Regions from separate parts of the Homo sapiens genome. Here all the other regions are linked to region 3. Evidence: promoter capture Hi-C in 16 types of primary human blood cells and fetal thymus (Javierre and others, 2016). All regions are on one chromosome and are shown on one strand. Each heading gives the region's core, a stretch centred on a gene start or on the middle of the fragment in contact. The rest is flanking DNA. Distances are from core to core; before and after follow the strand shown. Region 1 overlaps DNM3 (dynamin 3). Region 2 overlaps DNM3 (dynamin 3). Region 3 holds the start of C1orf105 (chromosome 1 open reading frame 105). Region 4 overlaps DNM3 (dynamin 3). Region 5 overlaps DNM3 (dynamin 3). Region 6 overlaps DNM3 (dynamin 3). Region 7 overlaps DNM3 (dynamin 3).

The links. Contacts are between HindIII fragments. The CHiCAGO score rates a contact against its expected background, and 5 or more counts as called.
Region 1: a fragment that was not itself captured here is called in contact with the fragment with the promoter of C1orf105 in region 3 in 1 of 17 cell types (M1 macrophages); the score reaches 7.2 in M1 macrophages.
Region 2: a fragment that was not itself captured here is called in contact with the fragment with the promoter of C1orf105 in region 3 in 2 of 17 cell types (M1 macrophages and total B cells); the score reaches 6.4 in M1 macrophages.
Region 4: a contact is called between a fragment that was not itself captured here and the fragment with the promoter of C1orf105 in region 3, in 1 of 17 cell types (M1 macrophages). The highest score is 5.4, in M1 macrophages.
Region 5: a contact is called between a fragment that was not itself captured here and the fragment with the promoter of C1orf105 in region 3, in 12 of 17 cell types (M1 macrophages, M0 macrophages, naive B cells and 9 more). The highest score is 14.8, in M1 macrophages.
Region 6: a fragment that was not itself captured here is called in contact with the fragment with the promoter of C1orf105 in region 3 in 10 of 17 cell types (M0 macrophages, total CD8 T cells, M1 macrophages and 7 more); the score reaches 11.0 in M0 macrophages.
Region 7: a fragment that was not itself captured here is called in contact with the fragment with the promoter of C1orf105 in region 3 in 2 of 17 cell types (naive CD8 T cells and M1 macrophages); the score reaches 5.6 in naive CD8 T cells.

Annotation. Positions count from the first base shown.
Region 1 is chr1:171,951,377-171,955,025 of GRCh38, forward strand. The region is part of intron 2 of DNM3 (dynamin 3); the gene reads left to right. Among named protein-coding and RNA genes, the nearest start is that of DNM3-IT1, 89 kb to the left of the region's middle. The HindIII fragment of the contact is 2,332 bases long and covers 648-2,979 here.
Region 2 is chr1:171,969,370-171,972,696 of GRCh38, forward strand. All of the region lies in intron 2 of DNM3 (dynamin 3), which reads left to right. Among named protein-coding and RNA genes, the nearest start is that of DNM3-IT1, 110 kb to the left of the region's middle. The HindIII fragment of the contact is 1,859 bases long and covers 575-2,433 here.
Region 3 is chr1:172,419,410-172,422,839 of GRCh38, forward strand. C1orf105 (chromosome 1 open reading frame 105) reads left to right here and starts at 1,276. Exons shown (of 7, transcript NM_139240.4): 1 at 1,276-1,497. The coding sequence starts at 1,477. LOC102724528 (a long non-coding RNA gene) reads right to left here. Exons shown (of 3, transcript XR_001738294.3): 1 at 3,088-3,430. The HindIII fragment of the contact is 10,347 bases long and covers 1-3,430 here.
Region 4 is chr1:172,064,729-172,068,292 of GRCh38, forward strand. All of the region lies in intron 10 of DNM3 (dynamin 3), which reads left to right. Among named protein-coding and RNA genes, the nearest start is that of MIR3120, 72 kb to the right of the region's middle. The HindIII fragment of the contact is 2,581 bases long and covers 277-2,857 here.
Region 5 is chr1:171,988,086-171,991,497 of GRCh38, forward strand. It overlaps DNM3 (dynamin 3), which reads left to right. Exons shown (of 21, transcript NM_015569.5): 4 at 860-1,063. Among named protein-coding and RNA genes, the nearest start is that of DNM3-IT1, 130 kb to the left of the region's middle. The HindIII fragment of the contact is 3,571 bases long and covers 1-3,412 here.
Region 6 is chr1:172,005,712-172,009,236 of GRCh38, forward strand. The region is part of intron 4 of DNM3 (dynamin 3); the gene reads left to right. Among named protein-coding and RNA genes, the nearest start is that of MIR3120, 130 kb to the right of the region's middle. The HindIII fragment of the contact is 2,793 bases long and covers 791-3,525 here.
Region 7 is chr1:172,028,030-172,031,345 of GRCh38, forward strand. All of the region lies in intron 4 of DNM3 (dynamin 3), which reads left to right. Among named protein-coding and RNA genes, the nearest start is that of MIR3120, 110 kb to the right of the region's middle. The HindIII fragment of the contact is 4,804 bases long and covers 1-3,316 here.

The DNA of each region.
Region 1 (3,649 bases), core at 564-3,063, 470 kb before region 3:
GCCAAACTTTGAAATATTTTACATGCGGTGTTTTGCATTATGAAAGTTTCGTTTGTCATCTACTTGATTTTCTCTTCTTTAACTGTGCTTATGTTTGGCAAAACCATTCTCATTCTCTAAAGTTTAGGGGTTTATCTAATTGTTTTCTCTAGTGGTCAATGAGCATCTTGAGAGTGAAGACCATGCCTTATTTATGTTGTATTCTAAACACCTCCTTATAGCTCCTGGGAAATTTATAGGCATTTATATAAATGCTCCTTGAATGAATGAATGTGTTCCCCCAACATCCTTACTGAATACTGAATTTGGGATCTTGTGAAATCCTACTCAGTTTAAGCTTTAGTGGAGGTGTTGACAAAAAACTAAGCTCTGTAAAACATTTCAAAAGGTTTATTATGAGCCCATATTAATGACTATAGCGCAGGAAACAGCCTCAAGAAGTCCTGAGAAAGTGAGCTTAAGTGGTTACAGATTGGTTTTATACATTTTAGGGAGATACAAATTGTAGGTAAAATCATAAATCAATACATAGCAGGTGTACATTGGTTCAGCCTAAAAAGGAAGAATATCTTGAAGTGAGAGTTGGGGTGTTACAGGTCATAGGTAGATTCAAAGATTTTGTGATTGGCAATCAGTTGAAAGAGTTAAGCTTTGTCTGAAGACCTCAAGTCAGTGGAAAAATATTCTTGAATTAAGATAAGGGAGGTTGTGGAGACCAAGGTTCTTGTTATGTAGATGAAGCCTCCAGGTAACAGCCTTCAGAGAGAAGAGATGGCAGATGTCTTTTTTGGGGACCTTAAAATGTCACACTTTTAGTTAATCCTTTCTTAAACCTGGGAAAAGCCTGGCTGCATTAATGGAGATTATCTGCAAATGCAAACTTCCTCCATAAAAGATGGCTTTGCAGGACCATGTCAAAATATGTCAAAGAAATATACTTGGAGATAAAACATTTTGATTTTCTTTAGGATCTGCTATCTGTCATGTGATGCTACATGAGTCAGGTTGGAATTTGGTATCTTATTGCCACAAAGAGTTTGTTTTTTCGGTCTTAATGATCTCTGTTTTAATGGTAATGCTGGTCAGTCAGTTGTGTCTAAACTCTAAGAGGGAGGGGGTGTAACAAGACATGTCCAACCTCCCTTTCCATCACGGCTGAGAATTCAAATTTTCAGGTTTCTCTGGGGTTCCCTTGGCCCAGAGGGGATCCATTTCAATCGGTTGGGGAGGCTTAGGATTTTATTTTTGATTTACAGGGGCAAATACAGTAGAAGTTTGTATTCCATGAAAATTTAATAACACAAAATTTAGTACATGGAATTTATTATAAATGGAAAGACTAGTACATTTATTGGCTATTTTGAAGAGAGTTATTTTGCAATATGAATCAATGAATAACTTATATCATTGCTTCTTTGCTTCTATAGAAACCAAATAACTTTCTATGACTGGGACAGGTAGTACCTCTATGTTTAAATAACTATTTTCTCTTAGAGTGTTATAATTTGTATTTCTCATCATTAATAGAACCAGTTTTACTGCCAACATGAATAAAACACTCTCCTTTTTACATTATTTTATTCTCTCAATTCAGAGAGTTAGTTATTATGTCATGGCTTTTGGTAAGAAATGAGTGATAATTCTAGGTATTTCCATGATAGTCCTTTGTTGGAAGGAAGGACTTCAAAACTTTAAAATAATCAAATTTCAACTAAATAAAAATTGCCATATAAGAGATGATCTGCTAAGGTATCTAGAGGACTAACATCTATGCCCTCACACTCATATCTAGTTCTTGCAGATTTATTTCTTTCAAACATCATATGCTAGCTGAATGTGATGCTTGCTATCGCCTACTTATCACAAACTTTGCTGCTATTTTTTTCCTTTGTAATTAAATGCCATATGCACACCTTCAATTAAGATAATTACATTTATGATTTTAGTTTAGTCAAGTCATCTGGCACTTTTCATGATATCAGTTATCTGACCTTTAAATAGATGAGAACTTAGGGAAGCATTTAGCATGCCCCATGCGCAATTCTTTTTTTTTTTTTTTTTTTCCTCCCAAGATAGAATCTTGCTCTGTTGCCCAGGCTGGAGTGCAGTGGCGTGATCTCAGCCCAGTGCAACTTCTGCCTCCCGGGTTCAAGCAATTCTCCTGCCTCAGCCTCCCGAGTAGCTGGGATTACAGGCACATGCCATGATGCTTGGCTAATTTTTTGTATTTTTAGTAGAGATGGGGTTTCACCATATTGGCCAGGCTTGTCTCGAACTTCTGACCTCAGGTGATCTACCCGCCTCAGCCTCCCAAAGTGCTGGGATTACAGGCCACCATGCCTGACCCCAATTCTTTATTTTATTTACAATACATCATTTTCTGACCTCATTTAAAAAATTTTAACTGAAGGATTTCTAGTAGACAGGAAAGTTGCCAAGAAGGTTTAGCTTTAAAAGAAATGCCTTTATAATAAATGGCATAGAATTCCCATTATGCTTTTGTTTTAATTTGTTGTAGGAAAGTATGGGATGTGGGATTTAGTTTCCTCACCGTTGTGGTCATTGTCCTTTTTCATATACTCCAGTTTGTCAGTAAAGCTGTTAAAGCATGACATCCAATACTGCATGCAATCCCTGTGGGCTCAACCTAGCACATAACTCAGAGGGACTACTGCCCCTTCTGTTGTGGACATTAACCTGCAATTAACTCAGTCTTAGATCACATTAATTTTGGGGCCAGGACACTTTATTACTGGTTCATAGTGAACTTGCAGCCCATTGTAACTGCCAAATTTTTTTTCTTTTTTGCACTTTGCCTGGATCCTCTATTAGCATTGATTTAAGAACAGTACTTTGCATGTATTATCATAGTAAATCTCTTTTGCTAAATTTGACTGATGATTCCAGCCTGGTGAGATAATTTTGGGTCCTGATTCTCTTTTCCAATTTGGTTGCAGTTTCTCCTTTGTGGTTATAATAAGCTTACTATCTAACCTCGTCCAAATTCCTGGGGGAAATAATGCTTGTTAGAAGTGGGTCAAGGAGTTTCTGGAATAGCATCTTGTTCTTCCTCACACATTCTTACCCTTCTTTAATTTCTGGATGCAAAGTATATTGTTCCTTGTTGACAAAATGGAAAATGAAATCCTCTTAAGATAGTAAAGTGGCTGTCAACTGTAATGCTCTTAAATCACTTTGCTGCTTAGTGCTCTCACAGCTGATACGCAGTTCCCTCTGTGGGCAGCGGCGTTTTACATCAGATCACCTTCCATTTCAATTTAGCATGCCTGCTCACTCCTGCAAGGGGAGGTTTAGTCCTTGGTAACAAGTCTAGAAAATTCTAAATTACACCAAAGGAAAACACCACCAGGAGATGGAGGATTTTTAATGAAAACATATTTTCACAGTGTGGCATTTCAAGTAGAATAACTAGAATTGTGGAAACTGGGGCAACATTGTGTTATGCAATTTTTCCTGAGAAAGCTAAAAATATGTTTTCAGCAGAGAATTAATGAATTGTAGTGATTTGATGCTAAGCAGTTCTGTTTTAATTAAAATATTTAACTTACTAATAAAATGTCAGCACAATTTGAAGGTAGAGAAGTTCTGTTGGAATTAAATTAATATTCTCCTTTTTAAACACCTGGCT
Region 2 (3,327 bases), core at 254-2,753, 450 kb before region 3:
TAAATCATAGTCAGGATGAAGTTCCTGTGAGCTCTGAGGGAGGCAGTGGGAACACGAGGGGCTGAACTTCACTGTGAACAAAAGTTGTCTTATTATGCAGATAGCATCTCCCAGGTAATCTCTGGAGCTGCCCTAACAATAGATGAGAAGTCTGTCTGGACATGGTGATGACTCCTAGTCTCTTCATTGGGATTCCTAGAAACGGGGGGTCTTAAAATAATTGCATTTCTTTGATAAAGAAGCTTTCTTGGTCATATAAAGGAAATTCTAGAAAGGGTCTCTCCCAATGTGCTTCAGCAAAAAAAGATTAAAGAAACAGATAGGCAAGTGAAGGCCAGAGAGAGACCTTGGGGCTGCTTCTTTAGTTCAGCATGTCAAAACACCGTATTTTGAGGTATTGCTCTCTGGGCCCTAATAAATATATGGTCTTATCTAATCCTCACAACAATCCTAGGAGGTAGGTGACACTATCCCCATTTTACATAGAGGAAACTGAGGCACAGAGAAGTTACAGTTTACCCAGAACAGTCAGGGTTGTTTGGAGTATTAACATGAAATAATGTGTGTGACTAAAAGCTTGGTGTGTAGTACAGCAGATTCTCAGTCATTTTTAATTTACTCTAAGGGTCAAGAGTTAGTAAATATAGAAGTCCATGTGACTTTGGGGCTTTCATTGGGCAAAACCACAAGTTTTGGCGGAAACAGATAAAGATAAGCACTTATTCTTATTTGGCATAGATAGTTCCTTCCTTCTGCATCCTACTGCTATTTTCATTTTATCGATGGAATACTTTGAAGCACGAAAAATCATTATATCTTGAAATAATTTTTAAAATAATCCAATAACAAACTCAGAACTACTGAAGAATAATAAAGGTAAGACAATACATATTAAACATTTTAAGGGTAACATTTTTGGGAAATTGACTTTTTTTAGCTTTATGGAATATTATTATCATTATTATCATGATCATTATTATTTCCATTCTACATAGGAAGAAATTGAAGCACAGAGAAGTTACAGGTTAGCCAGGAGAATACCTATTTTCCAGAACTTTTGTGGGGTATTAACAGTACTTAATATGTGTTAATTTACATACTAACTTAGGTAACAAGCGTGTGTTAAGAATAAGTATATAAAATGTGTTTTTGGATTCAAATTTTATTTTAAATGTGATAGATAGAAATATTTTTGCTAAGATATATAATTATCCTCCAAATTATTTTTAGGATGAGTATGAATTTTCATATGCAATGCAGTTCCATCTTATGTAAGCGCTGTATTCTAAAATTAGCTTTTAAATCAAATATAGGGTATAGTAAGAATCATCATTAGGACCACTGAGCTCAATATTGTATATATGATGTTGTGTATACAACTAACATTCCTTCTAACTTTTTACTGGTCACTGTTTTTCAATGGGTCTCAATTGGATTTTTTTAAAATTTCTTCTTTCAGGATGTTAACAAAGAAGAATCAAGTAGCTATTATCAGAATTCAGTTTTGTTTTCTGTGGAAATCTCTTTCCCTAACAGGTTATAACAATCCAGTGGTGTGCTTGTCAAATTTCAGCATTACCTTTATGTTGAACATTTAAAAAAATAATAACAGTAGCCTACATTTTAAATATACTTAGTATGAAATGGGCATTGTATTAAATTCTTTCTGTGCATTATCTTATTTAACATTTAACCACAAAGAGGAATGCATTCTATCTCTTACACTTCTTCATAAATGCTTTATGCTTTCACTTGTTAATTTCACACATTTTTATTTTTAAAAATTTGGTATGTGTTCTTATTTGCCCAGCCGTATATCTCCTATTTCCTTTTGTTTTTTCTCTTTGGTGCTTTTGTTAATCACTTGTTTATAGTTTTAAATATTCTCTTTTCTCCTCTTGGTTTTTTCCCAATTATATGAAGTCTCCTAAGTCTAATTCAGATTCTACCCTTTCTATAAATCCTTTACAGATCACTCTACCCTAAAAAGACCTCTCCCTTTGTGAAATCTACATAGCATTCATTTGACAATTATTCATTAAGCTGCTTATCTTGAAATTTTATTTAAATCTTTTGCTTAATTTTCACAAGTTTGTCTTCTTTTCCAACTTTGGTAAGTTCTTCAATTATGAAATATAGCTTAACACTTTGTTTCCCTATAGTAGTAGTTCTTTAATTCTTTAATGAGTAGCAGATTTTCATATGGCCAGAAAACGCCACTCCCAATTGAAAGGATATATTACAGAATGGAAAATAATCTGAACTTTGTAACCTAAGAAGCAAAATAGTCTGAATTCTGCAACCTAAGAAGCACAATGTGTAATTGAAGGCTTGCTAAAAAAACAAAAACAAAAACAAAAAACCCAGAAAACCTTATCACAAAAGCCAACACAGGTTTTGGGAAATTGAAAATATAATATTTTCATGGTATTAAGCTTCATACGAAAATGAAGTCCAGACAGCAACAACATACTCTTGAGAGTCTTATCCTGAGTTAGTCTCTATAACTGATTAGACCAGAAGGGGAGGAGATGGCTCATAAAAAGATCTGCTTCTAAAAGGAAAGTCTGAGAGATTTTGCTCTAGAGTGTTGGTTCATACTGAACGAGGAAAAGAACACTGGAAGTTCTAAAATGCTGAAAGAGGTATTCAAGACCTCATAGTCTTTGAAAAACAGCAAATAGTAGTTCAGTTTTGACTTGGAATCATTCATTCATTTATTCTTGTAATCATTTCTGTATCCTTAAGGAATGTTAAATCAAAGATGTAGAAGACATAGTCCTACTCTCTAAGCACTTTCTTTGTAGCACTGGAGATAAAACACAAACAACTAGTTACTACGCTGTGGAAGGCGTAATACATGTTATATGAATATTCTTGAACGTGTTACTTAGCCTTCTGGGATTTAGTTTCTTTATCTGTAAAGAGCAAGCACTGGCTTTGGTAGAAAATCTTTAAGGCTGTTTCTACATGCAAAATCACGTAAGTAGTACATTCACAAGATCTTGAAAAGCTTTAGAGGAGAAACACATTCCTTATAGTGGAGAGATCAAGGGAAGTTTCTTAGTGGAAATGATATTTGAAGAGGGCCTTGTTAGGTTGTTTTGATAGGCATATACTATAATAGTGATAAAACCAGTTATTGAGTGTTTGCTGTGCAGAAGGCAGTATGCGAGGCACTTTAAATACAGATTCCTAGGCTTGGCGCAGTGGCTTATGCCTGTAATCCCAGCACTTTGAGAGGCCGAGGTGGGCGGATCACCTGAGATCGGGAGGTTGAGTCCAGCCTGACCAACATGGAGAAACCCTGTCTCTACTGAAAATACA
Region 3 (3,430 bases), core at 26-2,525:
GAACCCCCAGTTGTAAAAGGGAGAGTCCTCATTAGTAATGCTGTTTCTTCGGACCACAAATTTTTTTAAGGACTGAGTTCTCCACTCAAAAATGAAAAATCAGTTTCTTGGTTTAAAATGTTCATATGGCATGTTACATTATTTTAATTGTATCCCCGGTCCAGTGACTACCATTTAAAATCAGTGATAACTAAGAAAGTTCAAAGGCTCCAAACCAAGGCATCAACTGAAGCTCATGTATAGCAGGAAGGAGGTGACTTGATGTAAAATAGCACATAGCATGCAGTCTTTTGTCCTTTCCTTCCCCTCCAGTCCAGGCATTTGATTTTTAAATCAATATTCTTAGTGGATAGCATTCTTCATCCCAATAGACAAAAATGTACCTAGATGATTTCATACCACCTCCCCAAATGAAAACCGAAGTTGTCAAAGAGAAGGTTTTCTTCAATTCATTTTTTAAAAGTGTTTGGTACTTTTCCACTTTGTCTTAAACATGGACTTATTTTTATATGCAGTGTTACACAGTTTAGATGTATAAAACTTAAATTGACCTGATGAATGATGAGAAGGAAAAACTCCAGTCATAACAGAATGAAATGACAACCTTACTCAGTTTTCCTTAACAAAGAAGTGTGTTCCCTTCCTTACATTCTATAGGCAAGAAAAAAGAGGGCAGGGGAAAGGGATGGGGGGCAGCCTGGAGTAAAATTAAATTATGCTAAGATTTGTTAATATGTATTTAGTAAATAGTATTTCTATGTTTCATAATATACCTTTCCCCAACTCTTCTTACCTCCACCTCCACCCTGCTATGTTTAATAGACTTGAAAAATTACTCCCTTTTTCAGAGTTGATCATAACTCAGGATAGTCAGGAAGAGCCAAACTATTATGCCTTTAGTAAACATAATATTCCTTATATATTTTCATTCCTTTATTTATGCATCAAACATTTCTTGAATTCATGATAATGTCCTGGACCCTGGGAATACCAGAGAAGTAACAGAATAAAAGTAGCTTACAAAATAGCTAAATAAGCAATTACAATGTAGTGCTACAATAAGAGAAAAGTTTGGTTGTCTTTCCAGGGAGAACTGTTCTGACTTCAGTACTGAAGCAGCTATCTGAGTTTTAGTATACTGTTATCAACTTTACCCAACACATGCTAATGTTCCAGAACATTGTGATTTTGACTTCTAACAAAGAAAGGAATACTAGAACTCATTTCAGCCAATCAGAAACTGAGCTTTTCATTCTGAATGGAATTATATGATTCAAGATGTAAATCACACAGATGTTGGTAGAGAAAAAGGCATACTGGTATTGAAACTGTAAACTGGCCTGTTTACTTCGTCTCCTAACAAAAAACACTTTGGATTCAGGTTCTCCACAGCAGTCTTCCACTGGCCACAGTGAGGGGAGCTAGGTTTCCCCAGTCTCCAGCTAGAAAAACTCAGAACATCTAAAGATCTGAAAGATGGAAAAAAGAGAACTAAAGGTAGGAAAAAAATAAATGAAACTTCCAATTCTTTCCTTATGGGGTTACCCTGGTAAATGTTTGTATGCCTTGGAGGCCACATAAACATTGAGGGGTGTTTCAACAGACATCCTAGAAGTTGAAAGCCAAAAGAAGGTAAGGAAATAACAGCTGATGTTCAGTTACAGGTGAAGATAATTTTAATGGGTTTGGGGCATGATAAATTTCAATGCTCTTTATCGTATAGTTTGGAAAAAATGTTGTACTTGCCAACATCTTTTATAACTCAGCATTTAAGTATGATTTTTTTAAATCCTCAGAAAATTGATACCAGATTCTTTAGTGCAGTTCCCTGAGATTCTGAAGTAAACCTTCTCAACTGTGAATGCACTTTAAAACAATGAATCTCAGTCACAGGAAGTTAAGATTGCTGAGAAAGAAAAAAAAACTTGTATAGACTTTTATAATTACTAGGGTCTAAATCTGAATAAATCACATTGAGCTTATGACACTGTATGTTTCCTATTTAAAGGGATATACTAGCTGTCTCTATTACCATAGTACAGGTGCTCCTTGACTTATGATAGGGTTACATCTCAATAAACCACCACAAGTTGAAAATATTGTAAGTCAAAAATGCATGCAATACCCTGATGAACCCATGATAAAGTAAAAAAATCCTAAGTTGGGGAGGACGCAGAGCAAGATGGCCAAACAGAAGCCTTCACTGATTGTTCTCCATGCACGAACATCAAATTTAACAACTATCTACACAAAAAAGCACCTTCATAAGAACCAAAAATCAGTGATCACAAAGTGATCACAGTACCTGGTTTTAACTTCGTATTGTTGAAAGAAGCACTGAGGAAGATAAGAAAGACAATCTTGAATTGCTGACACCACCCCTCCCCCATCCCCTGGCAGCAGCCACATAGTGTGGAGAGAGAATCTGTGCACTTGGAGGGAGGGCACAGCGATTGTGGGACTCTAGAATTCAGTGCTGCCAATACGGGGCAGAACTTAGCTGTTGCCAATGGAGGGACCATTTAGACCACCCTTAGCCAGAGGAGAATTGCCCATCCCAGGTTTCAGAAACTGAGTTTTGACTACCTCCACCACCATGGGCTAAAGTGCTCTGAGGTCCTAAATAAACTTGAAAGCCTGTCTGGGCCACAACAACTGCAATACCCAGGCAAGTCCTAGTGCTGTGCTGGGCTCTGAGCCAGTGGACTGGGGAGCGCACGATCTAGTAAGACACCAGCCAGGATGGCTAAGTAAGTGCTTACAGCACCCCTCCCCCAACCCCAGGCAACACAGCTTATGGCTCCAAAAGGGACTCCTTCCTTTGCTTGAGGAGAGAAGAGGGAAGAGTGAAAAGGACTTTGTCTTGCAACTTGGATACCAGTTCAGCCAGAGTAGGATAGGGTACTGGGCAAAATCCTGAGGCACTCATTGCAGGCCCTAGCTCTTGGATGACATTTCTAGATATACCCTGGGCCAAAAGGGAACTGCCTTGAAGGGAAGGACCCAGTCTTGGCAGATTTCATCACATGCTGAATAAAGAGCCTTTGGACCCTGAAAAATCAGTAGCAGTAGCCAAGTACTACATACCGTGGGCCTCAGCTGAAACTCCGAAATGCACTGGCTTCAGATGTGACCCAGCACATTCACAGGTCTGGTGGCTACGAGGAGAGACCACTTCTGCTTGAGAAGAACAGAGGGAAGAATAAAGGGGACTCCGTCTTGAGCTTAGGTACCAGCTTAGCCACAGTGGGAAAGAGCACCAAGCCAGCTCTTTGGGTCCCTGATTCCAGTCCTTGGCTCTTGGATGGCATCTCTGGACCTATTCTAGGCCAGAGAGGAGCCCACTGCCCTGAAGGGTAAGTCACTTTCCTGGCAGCATCCAACACATGCTGGCAGAAGAGCCCTTGGGCCTTAAGTGAACATTGGCAGT
Region 4 (3,564 bases), core at 317-2,816, 350 kb before region 3:
TATACTCCCACAATCAGTTCAATATCAACCAGCTAGTAACCAAACCAGTTGTTTCATTAATGCCATTCAGTGGTGGGCCTAGATCCTACATTGCTTAGTGTCTCTTCAAGGTTTTTCCTCCTTTGTCTCCATAATGGTAGTTCTTCTAGTGTGTTCTCTGTTTCTTTTGTTCCACTTAGAATTCAGGCTTATTGACTTCCAGTTGTCTCAATTGTAGGTACAAAATTGTGGCTCTTACAGATTCCTTTTCTGGTAGAATTAAGCCCATGGGCAGTAAGCTTGAAAAGATCAGGAGACACACACGTGCACACAAATCAATGCTCCTGCCAAGGCCAGTAGATTGGAGGCATTCTTAGATGTCTCTACTTCATGGGATATTCTTGTCATTTTGGCCTTTCCCTGACTTAATGATGGCCATATACTGGCCTGGGGTCCTTCAGCTATCAAGTGTTTAGTATCTGAATAAATATTTATATTGCCACTATTTGATGGTTTTAAAAATAACTTTCTGCTGTAATCTATTTGCTAAATGCTGTTAAAGCCATCTCACTCTTCCTTGGTAGACCTCAAATGCTTGCGTAGTTACTTCTCTGAGGCAATGTGATTCTATAATAGTGTGGCTGTCATTGAATAGCTTGGGAAGCTGTCTGAGTGCAGGCGGAATTGATTGTCTTGGTGACCTAGGGCAGGCTAATGTTTGGTGTCAGATACACCACTCAGGTTTGCACTAGTCAAGAAGGACTGGAATTGATCAGCTATCTCTTCCACTCTGAAGGCTTTTATAAGCCTCACAAAAAATAACTTGGAGGACTTTCAGAGAGTCAAGAGGGGTTCTGGTATAATAGAGCTTTTTCTGGAGAATGTTTCCAAAATGGGAAGTATGAGCTCCATTTGTATCTTGCGGTAATTCATGAAATAAGCCCCCAGGTGAGCGTGCATCTCAGGATTCAGATAAGAGGGTGAGAAATCGAGGACCTCATGGAGACGCTGGTGATGATTTTTGTGGTAACCAAAGCAGTCAGGTTTCTATGGTTTTATGATGTTATGAACATAATCTATATCCACTGTTGAAATATTTGGAAAATGTAGATAAATAAAAGTGTGCATAATTCAAAGAGTTATTGCTATTAACACTTTATAGTATCTGTGCAAATCTTTTTCTATGCACAGAGAGTAGACTTGCAGCAATGGAAGATTTAATGTATATGAGATCTCGTGATTATGATGGTTTCATGAAGTACTGCAGTTTGTTAACTTGCTAAGACACTAATATATGTTGTGCATGCTATAAAGGTAATGTGCACAGTGACCTCAGGTGACCATACAGAAGCCCCATTTCAGGGAGGCCTAGATCTAACTCCTTATGAGTTTGGAGAAATATTACATGCTATAATATTACTCAAGAATGTTGGTATTTGTAAGATTGGGCTATATCCTTGAAAAATGTCAAGGGTGTATGGTGGTGTGTGACTCTGTGTGTGTGTGCATGTGTGTGTGGATGTGTCTTAGTCCATTTTCTGTAGTTTATAACAAAATACCTGAAACTGGGTATACAGAAAAGGAATTTATTTCTTTATACAGAAAAGGAATTTATACAGAAAAGGTATTTATTTCTTACAGTTATGGAAGACCCAGTGTTGAGGGTCTGCCTCTGGTAAGGGCCTTCTTGCTGGTGCAGGGTATCAATCATATTGTAAGGGTGCTGAGTGTGGTAGCATGCTAGCTCAGGTCGCTAGTCCTCTTCTTATAAAGCTACCAGTCCCACTCCCATAACCTATTAATCCATTAGTCCATGAATGGATTAATCCACTCATGATGGCAGAGCCTTCATGGCCCAATCACCTCTTAAAAGCCCCACTTGTCAATATAGCCACATTGGGGATTGAATTTTAACATGAATTTGGAGGAAAGAAATATCCAAACCAAAACATTATGCTTGTGCATAACCACATTATATATTTAGTAGCCTAATTTTCTTCAAATAGTGTTGTAAATACTTTACCATGTCATTAGTTATTATTAAAACTGTTATTCAAAATGGCTACATTACATCACGTAAGTGGATCTACCTTCATTTATTTAACATCATCAGATACTAGGTAGTTTATAGTTTGTTTATCTTATTGTTGCTTTTCCAACTAATGCTGTGATGAATGTCCTTATCATTGTAGTTCAGAATTCTGTGAGGTTATTAGGTTGAGATCTCTCTCTCTGTCTCTGTGTTTGTGTGTGTGTGTGTGTGTGTGTTTGTGTGTGTGTGCGCGCGTGCAAGACTTTTGATACATAATGTCAAATTGCTTTCCAGAAAGATTTCTCTTCTTGACACCCCTCAGCAAGTTTAAATTGTGCTAATCTCAGTATACCCTCACCTGTAGTAAGTCTTATAAAAAAATAGCAATTTGCCAATATAATAGTTATTTCTTTTCTTTGCATTAGATCACTTGTACAGTTTGTTTTTCCTTCTGCTTATTGACTATTAAGTCTTTTACAAATTAAATCATATTCTTTGCCTATTTTATTGAGCTATCTGTTAATCTTATTAATTTGCAAGCACTTTAAAAATCATCATTGGAATTAATATTTTGCCTGGCCTAAGTCATGAATGTGCCCACTTTTCTCCATTTCCATTGCTGTCATCCCAGTAGAAGCCACCATTATTTCCATTCCATCTGAATTGCTTCAGTAGCCTAAATTCCTGATAGAATTGCAAGGATCTGCTTGATGTGGCCCCTCTCTACTTTTCTAGCTTTGTCTGAGGATCATACTCCTCAGTTTCTGCACGGACTTTCTTTTACTTTTATCGCCACTAATTGCCCCCACTTCCACCATGCCTTCACACATGTTCCTGTTCCTGGCAAGCTTCATCTTCTCCACGGCCATTCTCACACACCTTTGCCTGTCTAAGTCTTCCTTCTGGATTAGGGCTCCTTAAACATTTTCATAGCATCCCATTCTCTTTCTTCCTTATATTGAAAACAACTGAATTAAGGTATTCACTTTTGCAAACTATGTTTTGAACAATTACCTGCATAATTTAGATGGGGTTAAGTGATTGACATACACAATTTCCATAGTTTTGCAAAAAAAATGTACATATACACATATATTTTCTGTGGGGGAGAATTTAAAAAGTTAAAGGAGTCTCTTTGTGCTTCATGGGATGAATCATGCTCGAAGAGTAATGGACAAGACCATGGGCTCTGGAGTCCTAGGACTTAGGTTGGAATCCTGAACCAACCATTTTTGAGCTGTTTAGTCATGGGCATGAGTTACTTAACCTCTCTGTGCTTCACTTTTCTCCTCTATTAAATGGGGTTGGCCGGGCGTGGTGGCTCACGCCTGTAATCCCAGCACTTTGGGAGACCAAGGCAGGTGGATCACCTGAGGTCAGAAGTTAGAGACCAGCCTGGCCAACATGGTGAAACCCTGTCTTTACTAAAAATACAAAAATTAGCTGAGCTTGGTGGCACGTGCCTGTAATCCCAGCTACTCGGGAGGCTGAGACAGGAGAATCGCTTGAACCCAGGAGGCAGAGGTTGCAGTGAGCTGAGATTGCGCCATTGC
Region 5 (3,412 bases), core at 496-2,995, 430 kb before region 3:
TTTTTCAGTCTTTGCTGAAATCTTAGAGGTACATGTTACTATGGTTGCATCTTCCCCTATTGGATGTCTTGCAGCCATATATAGTCCTATTTATTTTCTTCCTGAGAAATCAGCTCTGACTTTTTCCCCCAGACTATCGGTAGAAACTTATAAATTAGATAACCAATCCATAATGTGTGATGGGAAATAACCTGTATGCTGACTAAATTTTTAGTGGGCAAATTTTCATTTCTTATTCCCTACTTAGCTCTATTGCTTTTAAAACAGAATATAAATGACATAAGCTCAATTATGACTTCCCAAGGGTACTTGGTGCCAACATTGTTTATATGGAGAGGTTGGGCTAGAGTCATGTTGTCACTGACTCTGTTTGTACAGCTGATTCAGTAAACCCAGGGCACCACGAATGGCTAACAGCTTTCTACTAGGCTAAGTGGTTAACTTTCTATTAAAAAAAAAAAATGATACTTTTTAAGGAAAGGGCAGTCTTACCCTGTGAGTTTTTATACCACTTGAAGGCAATGTATAAGACTGGCAGATAGCATATGCATTTCTCATTTGGTGTTTTAATTATAACCCCCTAGTTACAGATATGACAGCTTTCTGAGCAAACTGTTAGGCATGCAAATCAGTGCCTTTCAAATTATGTTAAAGTGATCATTTGGCATAGCACAATCATATCATAAAAATAGAGAAAACTAGCAAAACCATTTTTATTTTATGCTCTTTATTCTACACACATGGGTTGGAGTTGTTCAGATACACAAAGTAGAAGGCTGAGCTAAGTGACAAATGATTCTGTATTGTTATCTTTTAGCATTGAAGGTGTATGTAAGACTCCTTTATCCTTTCCACACAGTGTTAAATCTAACCCTTATTGATCTACCTGGAATAACTAAAGTGCCTGTGGGAGATCAGCCACCAGATATCGAGTATCAGATCAGAGAAATGATTATGCAGTTCATCACGAGGGAGAACTGTCTGATTTTAGCTGTTACTCCAGCCAACACTGATCTTGCAAACTCAGATGCGCTGAAGCTAGCTAAAGAAGTTGATCCTCAAGGTGAGTGTGTGACTACTAAGATGAGAAGGAATTAAAGTGTCAGGAGTTTTGGTATCTTTAAAGGTAACATAAATTCTTAAGATTTGGTTTCATTATAAATAAATTAGCCATTATTAATGTTGTTAAACCTTTTGTATTTTAAATAGAAAATTCAGTATTTAATATTAAAAAATAATAAATAATTTTAGTAAAGATTTACTAAAATAATGAAATTTATATAGTCAAAATCTATATAAATCTAAGAATAATGAGATCTAAGAAAACAGGCATTTCTAAGCCTCATGGGCTGCATATTTTAAAAAGTTGGTAAAATAAACTTCTGGTACAGCAGAATTCAGACAATCTACTAATTATTATGAGTTACCTGCATATGCTTCCAGTGAAAAACCTTTGTGTTTTTTACTTTGTCTTGTTTCTTTAAAATAGGAAGCTCTAATGCATGTAAGATATTATTTAGCTTATAATTATTTGAGAAAAAATGTACGTATAAGCAGGGATTTATTTGGTATTGTCATCTCAATATCCAGAAAAGGTCCTTTCTTATGCGTATGTTTAAACTTTTTACTTCTCTAAGTTGAATAACGACAGTTTATCTTCAGAGACCTCAGTGCTGGCCTTGGTGTGTGTCTGTTTAAAGTGATTGTGGAAGGGCATTCAATGATGTGCCCTTTCAATATGGAGATACATGTTCTTCAGTTCTAGGAATTTTTCTTTTTTGATAATTAATTGTCCCAATTTCTTTGTTCTTTTTATCTGTAGTTCTTATTAGCATGTTAGAACTCCTAAATGAATCCTTTATTTCAATCTTTCTCTTCTATAATCATTTCTTTGTCTTTTTGTTCTACTTTCTGCAAGATTTTATCAACTTTATCTTCTGCTCTTCTGATTCATTTTAGAGGTTCCAAAAGCATATTTTTACTTTGTGAATCTTATTTTTATTTTTTAAAATAGCATCATGTTCTTGTTTTCATAAATACAATATCTTCCTCCAAGGACTTTAGTGAGAGCTTTTTGAAGGTTTTCTTTTGTAATCTACATTGTCTGAATCTATTGTTTTCTGATTGTTTGTTTTTGTCTCTGTCTTTGATGTTAGAGACCTTTTTCAAATGTTTGTCGATCTTTTGCCGCTTGTTCGTGCATGAGAGTGGAGCACCAAAAAGCTGATTTATGTACATGACAGGGATTCATTGACCAGTGGGTTTTCCCATGGAGTAACTGTGCTGAGAGTTGACCATTTTGTTAGGAGACTTCCTCAACTGTTAGGTTCTATGAGTATTTTCTCCTGAGCTGGTCTGGTATAAGCCTGATGTCTAGTGTTCTTGGAGCCAAGAATTGGTGGGTCAGGGGATGGAGTGGGAGGAGGATGGTTCTCACTATTCAGTGTGTACACTTTTAATTAATTCCTCTGCTTTCATGATGGCATTCCTGAAATTCTTCTGGAGTCCAGAGTCCCTCTGGTTCAACCTCTTTTGAAGCAAGTCTTCAGTACTCTGCTGAGGTTGAGGAAGGGTAGCTATGTGGGTGTGTCCTCTAGGAGCCTTCAGCCAATTCTTTTATTTTCAGCTCTTCCTATACCCTAGCATTGGTTCTCCAATTCTTAGGCCTTTCCAGAATTCTGCAATGGTAACTGTTTTTTTCTTCTTGGTTTCCTCCACCATCCCTGAAACTGGGGCTTGTAACAAGCAGGTAGAGGCTCCAGATGACAAGTAAGGACCATCACCAGGACTCCCTTTACAGCGTCAGTGGCTTGGAAGAGTCAGATTATAAACTGGGACTGGAATCTAGTTATAAAAATGGTGCTGAACCATTCCTGTCTTACAGCCTTCTTTCCCATAGGAGATTGAGCCATGGTTGTCTGATTGGGACAGAGAGAGTCATACCATCAGTGAATTCTAGTGAGTTCAGCCCAGTCACATTCCTGAGGAGTCCACACGTAGTCCACGTAGAAAAAACAAACTCAGCTTCTCCTACTATATTCTCAAACACGCTTCTGACTCCAGATGTGTGGTGATTTCTCCCTACTGCAAACAAGCAATTAATTCTTTTCTGCAGCAGACATCAGCTAGGTATCCTCTGATTAAATTTTATTCTGATACTATTTACCTGGAAATAGCATCAGATCACACTGATTGAGGGTTCAGTCCCACAAGATGACCCCCACTTCTGATGCCAGTTACAAGATCCAGGTTGTTTACCCTGTGCTCTGACTGACTGGCTATAAATTGGGGTTTCTACAACCTTCTTCTTGTGTTCTATTAATTTGCTAGAGGGGCTCACAAAACTCGGAGAAACAGTTCTTTGTTATAAAGAATATTACAAGGGATACAGATGAAGAGATGCATAGGGCAA
Region 6 (3,525 bases), core at 937-3,436, 410 kb before region 3:
TCAGTAACAGTGCCTGTAGAGGTCTGTATAATGAAAATCACGTTCCTATTTAGTAGGTCCCAACAAAACCAATTGACTTAATGGAAACTTTTGCTGTAGTAGAAATTCCTGATCATGGAGGACAGATGACCAGAGGAGCTTGGATTTGGTTTGTGAGTGAAGGACAAAATTGACTGAGAAAGATCTGATGGTACTAACTGTTTACAAGTTAACCAGCTGGAACCAGTTAAAAGAGTTTCCTCCTGTTGCTGATAAGAATCACTGGATGGTGTTCTGAGCCCAGGACATTTTGTGGTCAATAGTCACTAATATGAGGTATGTGTTCAGGATTCCAAATAGATTGCTGAGGGTTGTGTGTGGAGCTTGATTAGTTATTACCTGAAATGTAAACTCCCATGAGAAAGCAAGACTGGGAAATACCTCACAGTCCCAAGTCCACAGCAGTGGTGGGTGCCTACAGGGCAGGCAATTATGAAGTCTTTCTATGCTGGCAGTGAGGGAGGTTTCTTGATTAAATCCTAATTGTGCTTTCTAGGAGGAACGCTCTTGTCTGTTGTCTATTATTCTTCCTGTGTTCAACTTGTGAAAGTTTCTTCCTTGTCCATTATCTTCTTTGACATATCTGAAGAAGAAATGGGGGATTGTGACCTTCTTGAGAGATTCACAGCTTTCACAGCCTGCCTTCTTCTTGTAAAAACTTGGGGTGATGAAAGTTGTTTTAAGACTCAGAGGCTTTTTCAGGCCAGGCCTTTTGTTTCTTTGTGAATTTAGTTACTTTAAAAACTCAGTAAGCTTCTCTACTATCTGCTTCTTGTTAATTCCATGTACAAATAACTGTACCCAATGATTTTTCCTAGACACAGATCTTAAATCTATTTTATTTATTTATTTTTCATGTGGCCAATACCCTCCACCCCCTTCTTCTGTCTCTTTCAACTTATTGTGGTTACCTTGAGGCTACCTGAGACAGTAGGCTTGGGTGGGGAAGTATGCATTCTAAGTGTAAAGTTTGATGAGCTTTGACAAATGTCAACCCATGTACCAGAACATTTTCATCACCCATAAAATCTCCCTTGTGTCACTTGCCAGTCAGTGTCTATTCTAGTATCCAACTCCTGGCTCCAAGAAACCATTGAACTGTTTTCTGTCACTATAAATTAGATTTGTCTTTTCTAGAGTTTCATGTAAATGGAATCATACACTAAGTACTCTTTGTGCCTGGCTTCTGCTCAGCATAATGTTTTTGAGAATCATTCATGCTGCTGCATGTTTTCAGTAGTTCATTTTTTTAAATAGGTGAATTGTAACTCATTCTGTGAATATACCATATTCTGTCTTCCATTTATCTGTTAGTGGATCTTTAGGTCGTTTCTAGTTTTGGGCTATTGCAAATAAAGCTGCTGTAAATATTAATGCACAAGTTTTCCATGTTCATATGTTTCATTTCACTTAGGAAAATACCTAAGAGAGGAATTGCACATATTAAAAAAATTTTAAAAACTACTAAGCTGTTCTCCAAAATGGTTGTACAATTTTTATTCCCAAGAGCAATATGAGTGTTTAATTGCTCCACATTCTCACCAACACTTGGTGCTTGTTAGTTTTATTTTCATTGTTTTCATTGTTATGTCTGTGAGGCAGCATTGATGTGCATGTCTCTGAGTGTCATCTTAGCGGTGATGCTGAGCATCAGTTCACGTCCTTATAGGCCGTTTGTATATCTGCTTTGTGAAATGTCTGTTCAAATCTTTTGCCTATTTTAAATTGAGTTGTGTTCGTCTTCTTAGGATTAAGTAATGAGTTAAAAATATTTCTGATACAAATCTTTCATTATATATTTCTAATGCTTTCTCATCTATAGTTTATTTTCTCATATTCTTTAACTGTATCTTTTGAAGAGCAAATTTTACTTTTGATTATGCCCAATTTATCAAGTTTTTATATGGCTCTTTTGATTATGCCCATAATCACATTAGACTTTGCCTAACCCAAGTTTGCAGAGATTTTTTCTTTTATGCTTTTATCTAGAAATTTTGTAGTTTTAGGTTTTAAAAAAGTTTAATTTATTTATTTGAGACAGGGTATTGCTCTTTACATATACTGGAGTGCAGTGATGCAATCATGGCTCACTGCAGCCTCAACCTCTTGGGCTCAAGCGGTTCTCCCATCTCAGAGTCCTGAGTAGCTGGCCAGGTGCATGCCAGCTTCAATGTGTTTTTCATTTGCATTTCCCTGATAATTATTGACGTTGAGCATTTTTTTCATATATCAGTTAGCTATTTGTACGTCTTCTTTTGAGAAACATCTATTCGGGTCTTTTGCCCATTTTAAAGTCAGATGGTTTGTTTGTCAGCTATTGAGTTGTTTGAGTTCCTTGTATATTCTGGATATTACCATCTTGTCAGATGCACAGTTTGCAAATTTTTTTTTTCTATTTTGTAGGTTGTCTCTTTCTCTGTTGTTTCCTCCGGTATGCAGAAGTTTTTTAGTGTGATGTAATTTCATTTGTCTGTTTTTGCTTTTGTTGCCTGTACTTTCTTATTCTTATCCAAAAAATCTTTATCTAGATCAATGTCACGAAGAGTTTCTCCTCTGTTTTCTTCGAGTAGTTTTTTATAATTTTGGGTATACATTTAAGTCTTTAATCTATTTGGAATTGATTTTTGCATATGGTGAGAGATCAGAGTCTAATTTCATACTTTTGGATGTGGAAAGCTAGTTTTTTCAGCACCATTTATTGAAGAGACTGTCTCTTCTCCAATGTGTGTTCTTTGTGCCTTCGTCAAAAATCAGTTGGCTGTGCGTGGATTTATTTCTGTGTTCTCTATTTTGTTCCATTGGTCTAGTTTTAGCCTTAAATTTAGGTCTGCAATTTTTTTTTTTTTGTATATGGTGTGAAGTAAGAGTCAAAGTTCATTATTTTTCATATGGATATGTAATTACTCCAGTACCATCATTTAGTTTGAATGGACTGTCCTTTCTCCATGGAATTACATGGGCATCTTTTGTCTGAAACCAATTATGTATGTTTACGTATGTGTATGTTTATGCATATGTTATAGGTTTAATATATATTAATATATATAATATATAATATATAAATATTAATATGTATTATATAATATATATTAATATATTATATTATATTACTATATAAATAATATTAATATATTATATTAAAATATTAATAAATATATCATATTAAATATTATATTAATTAAATATTAATAAATATATTATATTAATATATTTATATATTAAACCTATAACATATGCATATACTTATTTATATATAACATGCATGTACTTATTTATATATACAATATATATTTATATATTATATAATATATTATATGTATTTATATATTATATATCATATATTATATGTATTTATATATTATATATCATATAATATATATATTTATATTATATATATTATATGATATATAATATTATATAATGTATTAATATATATTAAACCTATATTTATAATTCTGGACTCACTATTTTGTTTCATTGGTGTCT
Region 7 (3,316 bases), core at 116-2,615, 390 kb before region 3:
GGATATTCAAGACTTGAATTCAGCTCTGGACCAAGAGGACCTAAGACATCTACAGAACTCTCCACCCCAAATCAACAGAATATACATTTTTCTCAGCACCACATCACACTTACTCCAAAATTGACCACATAATTGGAAGTAAAACACTCCTCAGCAAATGCAAAAGAATGGAAATCGTAACTAACAGTCTCTCTGACCACAGTGCAATCAAATTAGAACTCAGGATTAAGAAACTCACGAAAACCACACAACGTCATGGAAACTGAACAACCTGCTCCTGAATGACTACTGGGTAAATAACAAAATTAAGGCAGAAATAAATAAGTTCTTTGAAACCAATGAGAATAAAGACACAACGTACCAGAATCTCTGGAACACAGCTAAAGCAGTGTTTATAGAGGAAGTTATAGCACTAAATGCCCACAGGAGAAAGCATGAAAGATCTAAAATCGACACCCTAACATCACGATTAAAAGAACTAGAGAAGCAAGAGCAAACAAATTCAAAAACTAGCGGAAGAGAAGAAATAACTAGGATAAGAGCAGAACTGAAGGAGATAGAAACACGAAAACCCCTTCAAAAAATCAATGAATCCAGGAGCTGGTTTTTTGAGATTAACAAAATAGACTGCTAGCCAGATTAATAAAGAAGAAAAGAGAGAAGAATCAAATAGACAATAAAAAATGATAAAGGGGATATCACCACTGATCCCACAGAAATACAAACTACCATCAGAGAATACTATAAACACCTCTATGCAAATAAACTAGGAAATCTACAAGAAATGGAAAAATTATTAGACACATACACCCTCCCAAAACTAAACCAGGAAGAAGTTGAATCCCTGAATAGACCAATAGCAAGTCTGAAATTGAGGCAGTAATTAATAGCCTACCAACCAAAAAAAAGCCCAGGACCAGATAGATTCACAGCCAAATTCTACCAGAGGTACAAAGAGGAGCTGGTAGCATTCCTTCTGAAACTATTCCAATCAATATAAAAAGAGGGACTCCTCCCTAACTCATTTTATGAGGCCAGCATCATCCTGATACCAAAACCTGGTGGAGACACAATAAAAAAAGAAAATTTCAGGCCAATATCCCTGATGAACATTGATGCAAAAATCCTCAATAAAATACTGGCAAATCTAATACAGCAGCACATCAAACAGCTTATCCACCACAATTAAGTTGGCTTCATCCCTGGGATGCAAGGCTGGTTCAACATATGCAAATCAATAAACATAATCCATCACATAAACAGAACCAACGACAAAAACCACATGATTATCCCAATAGATGCAGAAAGGCCTACAAAATTCAACATCCCTTCATGCTAAAAACTCTCAATAAACTAGGTATTGATGGAACGTATCTCAAAATAATAAGAGCTATTTATGACAAACCCACAGCCAATGTCATACTGAATGGGCAAAAGCTGGAAGAATTCCCTTTGAAAACCGGTACAAAACAAGGATGCCTTCTCTCACCACTCCTATTCAACATAGCATTGGAAGTTCTGGCCAGGTCAATCAGGCAAGAGAAAGAAATAAAGCGTATTTAAATAGGAAGAGAGGAAGTGAAATTATCCCTGTTTGCAGATGACATGATTATATATTTAGAAAACCCCATCGTCTCAGCCTGAAATCTCCTTAAGCTGATAAGCAACTTCAGCAAAGTCTCAGGATACAAAATCAATGTGCAAAAATCACAAGCATTCCTATACACCAATAAGAGACAAACAGAGAACCAAATCATGCATGAACTCCCATTCATGATTGCTACAAAGAGAATAAAATACCTAGGAATCCAACTTACAAGGCATGTGAAGGACCTCTTCAAGGAGAACTACAAACTACTGCTCAAGGAAATAAAAGAGGATACAAATAAATGGAAAAACATTCCATGCTCCTGGATAGGAAGAATCAATATCATGAAAATGGCCATAGTGTCCAAAGTAATTTATAGATTCAGTGCTACCTCTATCAAGCTACCACTGACTTTCTTCAAAGAATTAGAAAAAACTACTTTAAATTTCATATGGAAACCAAAAAGAGCCCATGTAGCCAAGACAATCCTAAGCAAAAAGAACAAAGCTGGAGGCCTCATACTACCTGACTTCAAATTATACTACAAGGCTACAGTAACCAAAACAGCATGGTACTGGTACCAAAACAGATATATAGACCAATGAAACAGAACAGAGGCCTCAGAAATAACGCCAGACATCTACAACCATCTGATCTTTGACAAACCTGACAAAAACAAGCAAGGGGGAAAGGATTTCCTATTTAATAAATGGTGTTGGGAAAACTGGCTAGCCATATGCAGAAAACTGAAACTGGACCCCTTCCTTACACCTTATACAAAAATTAACCCAAGATGGATTAAAGACTTAAATGTAAGACCCAAAACCATAAAAACCATAAAAGAAAACCCAGGCAATACCATTCAGGACATGGGCAAAAACTTCATGACTAAAACACCAAAGCAATGGCAATAAAAGCCAAAATTGACAAATGGGATCTAATTAAACTAGAGAGCTTCTTCACAGCAAAAGAAACTATCATCAGAGTGAACAGGCAACCTACAGAATAGGAGAAAATTTTTGCAATCTACCCATCTGACAAAGGGCTAATATCCAGAATCTACAAAGAACATAAACAAATTTACAAGAAAAAAAACAAACAACCCCATCAAAAAGTGGGCAAAGGTTATGAACAGACACTTCTCGAATGAAGACATTTATGTAGCCAACAAACATATGAAAAAAAGCTCATCATCACTGGTCATTAGAGAAATGCAAATCAAAACCACAATGAGATACCATCTCATGCCAGTTAGAATGGCGATCATTAAAGAGTCAAGACACAACAGATGCTGGAGAGGATGTGGAGAAATAGGAATGCTTTGACACTGTTGGTGGGAGTGTAAATTAGTTCAACCATTGCGGAAGACAGTATGGGAATCCCTCAAGGATCTAGAACCAGAAATACCATTTGATCTAGCAATTCCATTACTGGGTATATACCCAAAGAAATATAAATTATTCTACTATAAAGACACATGCATACATATGTTTATTGATGCACTATTTATAGTAGCAAAGAATTGGAACCAACCCAAATGGCCATCAGTGATAGACTGCTAAAGAAAATATGGTACATACACACCATGGAATACTATGTAGCCATAAAAAGGAATGAGTTCGTGTCCTTTGCAGGGACATGAATGAAGCTGGAAGCCATTATTCTCAGCAAACTAATACAGGACAGAAAAGCAAACACCACATGTTCTCACTCATAAGTGGGAGTTGA